2 separate regions of the Homo sapiens genome follow, and region 1 is linked to region 2. The links are contacts of gene promoters, found by promoter capture Hi-C in human tissues and cell types (Jung and others, 2019). All regions are on one chromosome and are shown on one strand. The core of a region is centred on a gene start or on the middle of the fragment in contact, and the rest is flanking DNA. Distances in the headings are between cores, read along the strand shown.

Region 1 (6,139 bases), core at 1-2,500, 240 kb after region 2:
GTCTCGCCTCAAGAACCTTCTCTTTGGGGTTCTTGCTGGGCAGTGGGAGCCGGGCCACTGCGAAGATCAGTAATGTTGCCTTCCCATCCACTACTACTGTCTTCAATACCTCAAGGCCACTGCCAATATAATGAGGGAGGGGGGATCAGCCCAGCCCAGAAGCCAGTAAATAAAACTGGAGGTTCTGCTCGTTTAAAAACCAGAGCTGCACCAGGTACAGCGGCTCATGCCTGTAATCCCAACACTTTGGGAGGCTAAGGTGGGTGGATCACTTGAGGTCAGGAGTTCGAGACCAGCCTGGCTATGGTGAAACCTCATCTCTACTAAAAATACAAAAATTATCCAGGTGTGGTGGCATGCACCTGTAATCCCAGCTACTCGGGAGGCTGAGACAGGAGAATCACTTGAACCTGGGAGGCAGAGGTTGCAGTAAGCAGAGATCACAACACCGTACTCCAGCTTGGGTGACAAAGTGAGACTCCATCTCAAAAAATAAAAAACAAAAACCAAAACCAGAGCTGTGACGTGGGATGCACTGGCAGCAAGCAGCCCCAACAGTGAGGATATTTTCAAGGGAATTAGGTTGCTGGAGAAACTGCAAGCCTACCCTGCAGAAGTCTGTAGCTAGAGTGTTCTTAGCAACATTCTAACACCCTAAATATCTAGCAACAGAAGACTCACACAAACAATAATGCACAGAAAAAAAACTGCCACACATAAAAGCACAGGTGGACCTCACAACAGACGAAGTGCTGAGCAAAAGCAGCCAGGCACAAAAGAGCTCATATTGTACGACTCCATTTACATAAAGCTAGAAAACAGAGAGCCAATCCCTGGTGGAAGGATGTAAGCTGCAATGGTGTTCAGGAGACACTGTCACTGGCAGGGGCACATGGTGGTGCCCTGAGTCACACAGGTGCTCACTTTGGAAAAGCTGACTGGACCCGGAATTATGCGACCTCACGCAGGCACTGGGATGCTCTATCCAACCCCGCTGTGGAGGGCAATGCCCCAGCCTGCAGTCTGGGAATCCTCACTCTGGGAACTGCTTCCAAGAAGGGGACTCCACCCGCCCAGTGCCAAGCCCTCTCCCAGTTATCCACTGCTCCAAAAACAATTTACACAAACTCAGCAGCTTAAAGCAGCATGCATTTGTTACCCTACAGTTCTGCAGGTCACACATCCAGGCCAGGCCAGCTGGGATCTCCACGCAGGGTCACGCAAAGCTGCAACTGTATGTCATCGGGCTGAGCTCTCATCTGGAGGCCCTGGGGAAAACTGGTTTCCAAACTCATTCAGATTTCGTGGCAGAATCCAGTTCCCTGCAACTGTAGGACTAAGAACCCTGTGTGCTTACTGGCTGTGAGCAGGAGCCGCCCCTAGGGGCCACCTGAATCTCAAGGCAGGCACAGCACATCACATTTTTCTCACGCATCTAATCTCAGCCTCTGTTCTCCAACCAGATGGAGGAACCTCTGCTTCCCAGGGTCTGTGTGATTAGGTCAGGCTCTCCCAGACGACCTCCCTTCTCACCTCACTGACCTGGGACCTCCCGACATCTGCAAGTCTCTTCATGACAGTACCAGATGAGTGTCTGAATGAGTAACTGGAAGAAGGGGTGTGTACATTAGGGGCCAGGAATCTAAGAGACCACCTCAGAACTCTGCCCTCCACACCCATGCCAGGTGCCCGGCAGGTAACAGGAATCTAAAACTACTGTCACTGTTTGGGGCACCATGAACCGCACCCATATAAGAAGCTGAATTATCAATGTGTGTTTCCTACATCCACCACCAACCGGCTGTTCCCCATCTCTCCCTTTCCTCCAGCCTCCCCCTTCCCTGGATATAACAATATTGAGATTAGGCTAATTAGTAACCTTACCATGGCCTCTCACGTGAAAGGAGGAATCCCACATCTCTCACTTTAAACCAAAAGCTAGAAATGATTAAGCTTTGTGAGGAAGGCATGTCTAAAACTCAGTCAGAAAGCCGGGCCTCTTGCATCAAACGGCTGAGCGGCAATGCAAAGGAAAAGCCCCAGAAGGAAATTAAACGAGCTGCTCCAGTGAACACACAAATGACAGGATAGCAAGACAGCCTTATTGCTGATGTGGAAGAAGTCTGAGTGGTCTGGAGAGATTAAAACAACAACTTTGCCCGACAGCTGGTGTGACTGGCAACCAAAGCTGAATCCACAGCAAGGTCCTAACCGTCCTCAATTCTATGAAGGCCGAGACGGGTGAGGGAAGCTGCGGAAGAAAAGCAGAAAACCAGCAGAGGTTGGTTCATGAGGTTTAAGGAAAGAAGTCACTTCCACACATAGAAGTGCAAGGTGAAGCTGCAAGCTTTACGGGAGAAACTGAAGCAAGTTCTCCAGATCTAGCTAAGATGGTTGACTAAGGTGGCTACTCTAAAAAGATTTTCAGTGTGGATAAAACCGCTTTCTATTGGAAGAAGATGGCATCTAGGACTTTCGCAGCTAGAGAGAAGTCAATGCCTGGCTTCAAAGATTGAAAAGGACAGGCTGACTCTCGTTAGGGGCGAATGCAGCTGGTGACGTGAAGCCAATGGTCATTTCCCATTCCAAAAATTCTAGGACCCTTAAGAATGATGCTAAATCCACTCTGCCTGTGTTGGAAATGGAATAACAAAGCCTGGATGACAGTGCATCTGTTTACAGCATGGTTTATGGAGTATTTTAAGCTCACTAATGAGACCTACTGCTCAGAAAAAAAGATTCCTTTCAAAACACTACTCACGGCCGGGCGCGGTGGCTCACGCCTGTAATCCCAGCACTTTGGGAGGCCGAGGCGGGTGGATCACGAGGTCAGGAGATCGAGACCATCCCGGCTAAAACGGTGAAACCCCGTCTCTACTAAAAATACAAAAAAATAGCCGGGCGTAGTGGCGGGCGCCTGTAGTCCCAGCTACTTGGGAGGCTGAGGCAGGAGAATGGCGTGAACCCGGGAGGCGGAGCTTGCAGTGAGCCGAGATCCCGCCACTGCACTCCAGCCTGGGCGACAGAGCAAGACTCCGTCTCAAAAAAAAAAAAAAAGAAAAAAAAAAAAAAAAAAAAAAAAACACTACTCACTGACAATGCTCCTGGTCACCCAAGAGCTCTGATGGAGATGAACAGGGAGACTGATGTTCTTCTTTTGCCAACACAACGTGCATTCTGCAGCCCCTGGCTGGGAGTCACTCCAACTTTCAAGTCTTATTAAGAAATATGTTTCACAAGGCTGTAGGTGCCATAATGATTCCTCTGATGGATCTGGGCAAAGTCAGCCGAAAACCTTCTGGAAAGGAGTCATCATTATAGATGCCACGAAGAACATTCATGATTTATGGGAGGAGGTCAAAACATCAACATTTGGTATTTTGGAAAAACCTGATTCCAGCCCTCATGAATCTTTGAGGGGTTTGAGACTTCAGTGGAGGAAGCAACTATAGATGTGGTGAAAATAGCAAGAGAGCTAGATTTAGAAGTGTAGCCTAAAGATGTCACTGAATTGCTTCAATCTCGTGATCAAACTTGAATGGATGAGGTGCTGCTGCTTTTTTTTTTTTTTTTTTTTTTTTTTTAAAGACAGAGTTTCACTCTCGTTCCCCAGGCAGAGTGGAGTGGTGCAATCTCGGCTCACTGCAACCTCCACCTCCCGGGTTCAAGCAATTCTCCTGCCTCAGCCTCCTGAGTAGCTGGGATTACAGGAGTGCGCCACCACGCCCAGCTAATTTTTGTATTTTTAGTAGAGACGGGATTTGGCTATGTTGGCCAGGCTGGTCTCAAACTCCTGACCTCAGGTGATCCACCTGCCTCAGCCTCCCAAAGTGCTGGGATTACAGGCACGAGCCACCATGCCCGGCTGAGGTGTTGCTTCTTAGAGATGAGGAAAACAAGTACGCTTCTTGACATGGAATCTGCTCCTGGTGAAGATGCCGTGAACACTGTTGAAATGACAACAAAGGATTTTGAAGATTCCATAAACTTAGTTGATAAAACACAGGCAGGGTTTGAGAGGCTTGACTCTAATTTTGAAAGAAGTTCTACTTGGGTAAAATACTAGCGAACAGCTTTGCATGCTACAGAGAAATCTTTTGTGAAAGCAAGATTCCACTGATGTGACAAACTTCATCGTCCCATTTTAAGAAACTGCCAGTCACACCAACCTTCAGCAACCATCACCCTGATCAGTCAGCAGCCATCAAGAAAGGCAAGACCCTCCATCAGCAAAATGATTACAACTTAAGGCTCAGATGATCATCTTTTAGCAATAAAGTATCTTTAAATTATTTACATTTTTAGACATAATGCTATTGCATACTGAATAGTAACCACAGCATACCTAAACGTAACTTTTATATACACTGGGAAGCTAAGAAGTTTCTGTGACTTGCTTTGTTTTGCTATTCACTTTATTGCAGTGGTCTGGACCCACACTGGCACATCCCCATGTGTGGGATGAAAGGTCCACTGGACACTTGGGTAGCCAATGTGGTTCCCTAGCATTCCTGTTTCCTTCTTCCTTTAAGTGTTAGAAACCCCATCAAATTACTAATGACTGCCCCATAAATGACATTTCCTAGTGTCCCCTTAAGTTAGGTGAGTTTGTGACCAAGATGAGGCGAGAAGGGAAGTGATGTGTGCGTGCTGTCCACTCTCTCCCCTCCCCACAGTGCTGATGAGGCAGGGCAGCCAGAGTCCCTGGAGGCCAACCCTACCTTTAAGAGAGAATAAGACAACTCAAGTTTCTTATTTGAAACACCGTATTTGAATCTGTTACAGCAACTTTAACCTACGTCTTAAATAATGCTAATATACAACTCAAAATATTCAGATTCAATTCTCCCCATGATGATAAATTCAAACTGGGCCAGGTGCGGCGGCTCACACCTGTAATCACAGCACTTTGGGAGGCTGAGGCAGGTAGACTGCTTGAGCTCAGGACTTAGAGACCAGCCTGGTCAACATGGTGAAACACAGTCTGTATTTTAAAAAGACAGGCCAGATGCAGTGGCTCACGCCTGTAATCCCAACACTCTGGGAGGCCTAGGCAGGCACATCACCTGAGGTCAGGAGTTCGAGACCAGCCTGACCAACATGGAGAAACCCCCGTCTCTACTAAAAATACAAAATTAGCTGGGCATGGTGGCACATGCTTGTAATCCCAGCTACTTGGGAGGCGGAGACGGGAGAATGACTGGAACCCAGGAGGCGGAGGTGGAGGCTGCAGTGAGCTGAGATCACGCCATTGCACTCCAGCCTGGGCAACAAGAGCGAAACTCCATCTCAAAAATAAATAAATAAAAATAAAAATAAATTAAAAAGGGGGTGGGCCGGACATGGTGGCTCATGCCTGTAATCCCAGCACTTTGGGAGGCCGAGGCAGGCAGATCACCTGAGGTCAGGAGTTCGAGACCAGCCTGGCCAACATGGTAAAACCCCATCTCTACTAAAAATACAAAATTAGCCAGGTGTGGTGGCACACGCCTGTAATCCCAGCTTCTCGAGAGGCTGAGGCAGGAGAATCTCTTGAACCTGGGCGGCAGAGGGTGGAATGAGCTGAGATCGCGCCATTGCACTCCAGCCTGGGCAACAAGAGCAAACCTCTATCTCAAAAAAAAGAAGTGGGAGAACGGTGGGGTGGAGATGTTGGTTTCTTGTTTTGGAACTCAGTTGATACCTTCTGATTTTAAATTTTAAAATGGCTGTTATACTACCTGGAAACAAGCTGTTTATTTTTTTTTATTTGATATATATATATATTTTTTGAGACAGAGTCTCACTCTGTCGCCCAGGCTGGAGTGCAGTGACACAATTTCGGCTCACTGCAATCTCCACCTCCCTGCAATCTCTGTCTCGTGGGTTCAAGCGATTCTCCTGCCTCAGCCTCCCAAGTAGCTGGGATTATGGGCGCCTGCCACCACGCCCGGCTAATTTTTTTGCATTTTTAGTACAGATGGGGTTTCACTTTGTTACCCAGGCTGGTCTCAAACTCCTGACCTCAGGTGATCCACCCACCTCGGCCTCCCAAAGTGCTGGGATTGGATTACAAGTGTGAGCCACCACGGCCGGCCAGAAACAGGGTGTTTCTGTTTACAAGAACATATCTTAAAACCATATGTGTGCCTCTTAATAA
Region 2 (5,887 bases), core at 2,322-4,821:
TTTATGTGGCAACTGGAAAGAATATACATTTGGAGCAAGATAGGAAAAAATTTCACTCTGAGATACAGGTTGGGGCCTCCTTTCCTGTGTTTAATGCAACCTCGAGGCCCAGAGTGGGTTCCGTCCTGGCTGAGCCTTCCTCCCCTCCTCCTCCCCCTTCTCCTCCCCTCCTTCTCCCCTTCCTCCTCCCCCTCCTCCTCCTCTGTCTTCTATAAAATGGGAGAAGCTGGGTTTGCCTCACACCTGGACCCTGCGGCCCCCTCTGCCCTTGCTCTCCCTGGCTTATTTCCCTGGCTTGGGGACTGTTTGAGTTTCCCGGAGCTGCCCTAACCAACCACCACCAATGGGGTGACTCAAACAACAGAAACTATCGACCCTAAGCTCTCCAAGCCAGAGTCTAAAATGGAAATGTGGGCAGGGCTATTTCCCTCAGCGGCTATGAGGTGAGACCCAGCTCCAGGCTTCTCCTCGGCATCTTCTTCCTGTTATCTTCACATCATCTTCCCTTTCTGTGGGTCTTCGTCTGTGTCCGATGCCCCTTTTTGAAAGCACACCAGGCACATGGGATGAGGCCCGCCTACTCCAGCATGACCTCATCCCAACTAACCGCATCTGCAACGACCCTGCTTCCAAAGAAGGTCACATTCCCAGAGGATTTGGAGTCTGGACTTCGACGTAGGAATTTGGGGGATGGAGTTCAAGCCACAGTTGGGAGGAATCCTCTGGCCCTTCCTCTCCTGGCCCTGACCGAGCAGCATGGGGGCCTTTGGCAGGCAGAGGCTGTGCTCCTCGTGCCGGCCGGCTTCCGAGGCCTGGGCAGGAGAAGCTGGGCCAGCCCGTGTCATCACCCTGGCTGACTGGGGATGGGGGATCAGTGAGACGCACAGCGAGGAGGGTGTGGAGAAAGAGAATTTGGGATGTGGGGGGTGGTTCCGTGGGGGACAGAGGCAGCAGGGCTCCAACCCCCACCTCAGCCCTTCCCTGCCCCCGGAGGCAGCTGCATCACTGGGCTCCCCTGATGGCAGGTGTCCCCTGAGAGCCACTGGGAGAGCAGCCCATGTCTTTGCTGTGAGGGCACCCAGCCTGAGAGGAAGGCTCACCCCCAAGGCTGCCCGCCCCCTGTACCTGGGCCTGCGGTTGGAGCTGCCGGCTGCTATGTCCAGGCCCTTGGTGGAGAGGTCAGCCTGCTGCTCAGCTCTGTCCCACCCGCTCCCGCCGGGCCCTCCATCCTGCCTGCATCTGCCCTGTCTCCTCTCTGGGCCATGTGCCGTGGAGGGGACACCCTGCTCCCAGATGCTTTATGGAGCAATGGCGGGCACTCCCCTTCGAGCTGGGCCATGCCAGGCTCCAAGGGACCAATGGGGATCCTGGCCAAAGGCTCCAACCAGCACGGTGACTCCATGGAGCAGCCCAGGGGCAGCGTGGGCACTGGTCTTGGGGCTCTGGGACCTCCCTCCTTGGACCAGGTCTTCTGAGAGCCTCCCTGACCTGCAGGGGGAAGCTAGGTGCCAGTGCCAGGAGGAGGTGGGTAGAGCCGTGGGCAGTACTGGGCATGGGAGCCCTCTCGCTCACCTCCTGACACCCTCCCTGATGCCCTTCCTTGCTGTGTAGGTGGTATAGGCCCAGGCCTGGGGGCTGGAGGAGTGGCCTGTGGCTCCGGGGACTGCTGGGCTGAAGCACTGGACTGGAGCCCCTGGGGAGGTGGTGGCTCCCAGAAGCCCTGACTGGGAGTGGCCCAGGGACCTGGGGAGTAGGGCAGGCACCCAAGTCTGCCCCCAGAGGTGTCCCCAGAGGTCACTGGGCTGGGGGCCACCACAGGGCAGGGGATCTGGAGTCACAGGAAGACAAAGCCGAGGGAGAGGAGCCAGGGGACAGATGCCAGTGGGTGCAGCAGAGCAGGGCCAGCTCCATGCCACCTGCCTATACCAGGGGGGTGACGGGCAGAAATGGGTGCAGCGGAGCAGGGCCAGCTCCGTGCCACCTGCCTATACTGGAGGGGTGACGGGCAGAAATGGGTGCAGCGGAGCAGGGCCAGCTCTGTGCCACCTGCCTATACCGGAGGGGTGAGGAGCAGACAGGCATGTGGCCCGTCCCTGGGCACACAAGAAGGCTTGGTCTGGCCAGCCTAACACCCCCTTCTTGCAGCGAGGGGCTGGCATACACCCAGGTTTTGTGGCCTGGCAGGGGCGCTGCCTGCAATGGCTCACCGCAGGAAGAAGTGGCTCTGGGGTGTGCTCCAGGCCACAGGCCATAGCCAGCACCACCATGCCTCCCAGCAAGACCACACAGACAGTGTCCAGGCATCCGGTGAGCAGGGCTGGGGATGGATGCGGTTGGCCTGGCAGTGCCTTGGGGAAATGCGGGTTCCACCAGAGCTCCTCTGGGGTCAGGGCCCCGCAGTCGGCAGCAGCCATGCTGTGCGGCCAGTGTGGCAGGTGTGGACAGGGTCCAGGCAGCCTGGGTGAGCAGGTGTGAGTGTGGACCTGGTGGGTGGGTGAGAGCAGAGCCAGGGCAGTGGTCCCAAGCACCCTAACCCCTGAAGGCCTAACCTGTCCCTCCTGCACCTGCGTGGGCGCCTGCAATTACCCTCATGGTGTGCATTGGAGGTGGCTGGCTGGCTCTGGATGATTTTCTGGTCAAGAATGACTCAGGCAGAGGTGGGGGCTGGAGCTTGGGAGAAGGGGGCACTTGTGGGGGTGGGGAGCACCTGAGCCCTCAGGACCTCCAGGACTACGGGACAGAGGAGGAGGGGCCTTGGGGACAGAGGAGGAGGGGCTTTGGGCCCTGTACTTCCGTGGCCCTGCCCACCTGGGATATCGGGGCAGCCAAGGGGAGGGCCCTCCAGAAGATCCATGGAAGGTTCCCGTGCCAGGCTGAGGCTGCCCCCAGGCCAGCCCCCGAGGCTGTGAGCCTCCATGCCCAGTGTCTCTGGCATGCCCCAGCCTTGGAAGGTGGGTGCCAGGATGGGCTTCAGAGAGGGGACCAGGTACTCCCAGGGTGACAGGGAACATTCTCTGTGCCCAGGTGGAGGAGCCAGACCGGGGGGTGAGGCCTGGCACTGCTCCAGGCAGGACATCCCAGCTCTTACAACGTCATGGGGGCAGGGGGGCCTGCCAAGGAGAGCCTTGAAGACCCCTGGACCCAGCAGACACACGACGTGAAGCAGCGTCCCCAGGAAGCTGAGCAGACAAGGTGGGGTCGGGGCTGGAGGCAGGGACACCAGCCCGCACCGCATTAGTGGCTTGTGGGGATAGAAACCGCCGCTCTGGCCGGTCCGCGTTTCACTCCAAACTCCTTTCCCAAAAAAAAAAAGCTGTTCTGAAGGGCACAGGACGCCTCCGCGCCCGCCCTGCGTTCCTTCGCGGTGACTCCCTGCTGGGGACGAGGGGAGGGTCCCGGCTGCCCAGCCGCCGCCCCTTGCCCGGGGTGCAAGCGCCAGGCCCGGGCCGCGCGGGGTTTCCGGCACCTGCCCGCCCCGCCCCGCCCCGCGTCGGGGCCCCGACCTGGGCGCCGCCCTAGACGGGGGCGGGGCCTGTGGGGCTTGAAATGCGGGCGGAGCGGGCGCGCGGAGACACTGCGGACCGAGCGGCGAGCGGGCAGGTGCGGCGGGTGCGGCGGGTGCGGCGGGTGCGGCGGGTGCGGGCAGGTGCGGCGGGTGCGGGCAGGTGCGGCGGGTGCGGGTGCGGGCTCGGGGCCGGGCGGGGCGGCGGCCGCCGAAGGAAACCGGATCCCCGCTGGAGCCGCACGCCGAGGCCAGGGTAGGGGCGCGGCGGCCAGCGGGGTCTTGGGCTCTGGCCGGGCAGGTTTCCCGCCCTGGGCAATTTGAGCTCCGAGTCCGAAGTGGCGCCCCTGAGTCCCGGGCGCCGGTGAAGAGGAGGCGCCGGCCCCGAGCCCTCACGGGAGAGGCGGCCAGGGGCGGGGGTCTCGCAGGCCCAGCGGTTTTCCCTGCAGCGAGGACCGCCCGGGGCACGCTCTGCAGGGTGGGGAACGCCCAGGCCAGGAGGCAGCTAGGCCGACAAATTGAGAGGGGTGACTCCTGGCAACATTGCCGGGAGGGAGGCGTCACGGATCCGGGGAAGCTGCCTGCTGTTGGGTGAGCGGTCCCAGGGGTGGCCACTCCGGGTCAGGTAAGCGGTCACACGGTCGCCTGGAGACCCGTGGGAGGCAGAGGCAGGAAGGGCCCTGTTCATCACTTGGGCCCAGGGCTCTGCTTCCCTGCCCTGGGCCCCCGCTGCACTGTGCCAAGCTTGTTATTGGGGCCACTGATCTCTGATCATGGTGCAGGTTGCAGGTGGGTGGGGTCTTCCCACAAGGGCACACAGCCGGGCAGAAGCTAAGGCTGCTGCCTCCTGTGTGGGCCCAGGCAGCTGCCAGGGTCTGTCCTGACCTGACTCAGGCAGGCGGCTGCAGCCTCCCCAACCTTTGTCCCAGGCTGCGGTGGGGGCCTGCCGGGCAGTCTGGTGACAGACAGTGACCTCACCCAAGAGATGCAGACCCACCCTCCTCAGGAACGGCCCTCCACCACTTGGGGCCTGGGGGCCACCTGAAGTGGGGAATCCACAGGAGGGGCCCTTTGTGCCTCAGGCTCCGGGGAAATCTGCTCGGCCTCCTCCCCACCCCATCACCCTAACCCTGACCCCGTGCTCTCCTAGGCAGCAGCCACCTCCTCCAGATGCCCCCACACTCGAAGCTGCACCCCCTGCCCCCCCTCGCTCCGGACCCTCTGTCCAGCTGCCCTCCCAGGCCCCACATGGAGTCAAGACACCCACTCCCGGGCCTTCCTCCTGCCAAGCCTGGGAAGGGGCAGGGCCCAGGGAAGGGGCAGGGCCCAGAGGGGTTCATACCAGGCCCAAGGTCAGGAAGAGATAGGGAGTGGTGCAGCCAGCCACAGGCCGCATCTCACGCATGGTGCGGGGCATGCACTGGCAGGCACACTCACACACGCAGGGCAAGCCTGCCCCCGACTCCCTGCTCCCAAGCGCCCTGTCTCCAGCCTTCCTCCCTGGATCTCCTCTTTGTTTGGGGAACTTGAGCCACTTGCCTGAGCTTACGAGGCCCGCTTAGCACGCGGCCTGTCTGGGCTGGCGGCCTGTGCGCAGGTCAGGGGCCCGCCCAAGGTGCTGTCCCCACCCTCACTGGCCCTGCCCCGCCCTCGCTGGCCCTGCCCCACCCTGGCCCGCACTGCCCCTCCCCCTTGCTGGGAAATCAGGTGCTCCTCTCATTTCCTCACCGCCATCCCTGGCCGGATGTCAGGGGACAGGGCAGGGCCCTGACCCCCTAGAAGCCCCTCGTCTGGCCTGGATGCCATAGTGAGTGGCTGCCTTAGGCTCACAGATCCTGGAGGGTCCTGGAACGAGGCGTGCTGGAGAGGGCCCAGCCCTAGGGGAGGCAGGTGCCAGTAGAGGTGGACACAAAAGCGCCCAGGCTGGGTTCCCAGAAGCAGAGTCTGTCTGAGGCAGGGGTAACCGGGAGTGGTCTCAGGATGGCCTCAGGAAGGGAAGGGAGGAGGAAGCAGGTGGACGAAGGAGAAGCTGGCCTGTCCTGCCGTCTCATGTACCCCCCAGAAGCAGATCTGGACAGCCCCGTAGCCACCCCGGTCAGGCTGTGCCCTTGAGCCTGGCCTCTTCCTGGGGAAGTGCAGAAACAAGTTTTGCAGGGTGGACCTGGCCCCTGGGGCTGCCTCCCCGTCCTCCAGACTGGATGCCCTCAACCCGGGCGCGCCTGCTGGCTCAGGGCTTGTCAGGTGTGACCAGGTCCTCTTCCCTGAGGGTCCCCTCTAGGGCTGGGGGTGATGTTCTATTTACCATGAGAACCAGGCAGGGCACACCAGGTCCCTGCACCCTGTCTGCCCCTGTGGTGCCGCCTCCTGGTGCTCAGGCCTGTCCCC

What was found. Contacts are between HindIII fragments. The study calls those that stand out against the background at their distance.
Region 1: a fragment that was not itself captured here is called in contact with the fragment with the promoter of EPPK1 in region 2 in 6 of the 25 tissues and cell types used here (IMR-90 fibroblasts, dorsolateral prefrontal cortex, hippocampus and 3 more).

What each region holds. Positions count from the first base shown.
Region 1 is chr8:143,638,387-143,644,525 of GRCh38, reverse strand. The region is part of intron 1 of ZNF623 (zinc finger protein 623); the gene reads right to left. Among named protein-coding and RNA genes, the nearest start is that of ZNF623, 5.4 kb to the right of the region's middle. The HindIII fragment of the contact is 7,039 bases long and covers 1-4,769 here.
Region 2 is chr8:143,876,151-143,882,037 of GRCh38, reverse strand. EPPK1 (epiplakin 1) reads left to right here and starts at 3,571. Exons shown (of 2, transcript NM_031308.4): 1 at 3,571-3,600. RefSeq lists an enhancer at 2,219-2,861 and a silencer at 3,428-3,517. The HindIII fragment of the contact is 27,880 bases long and covers 1-5,887 here.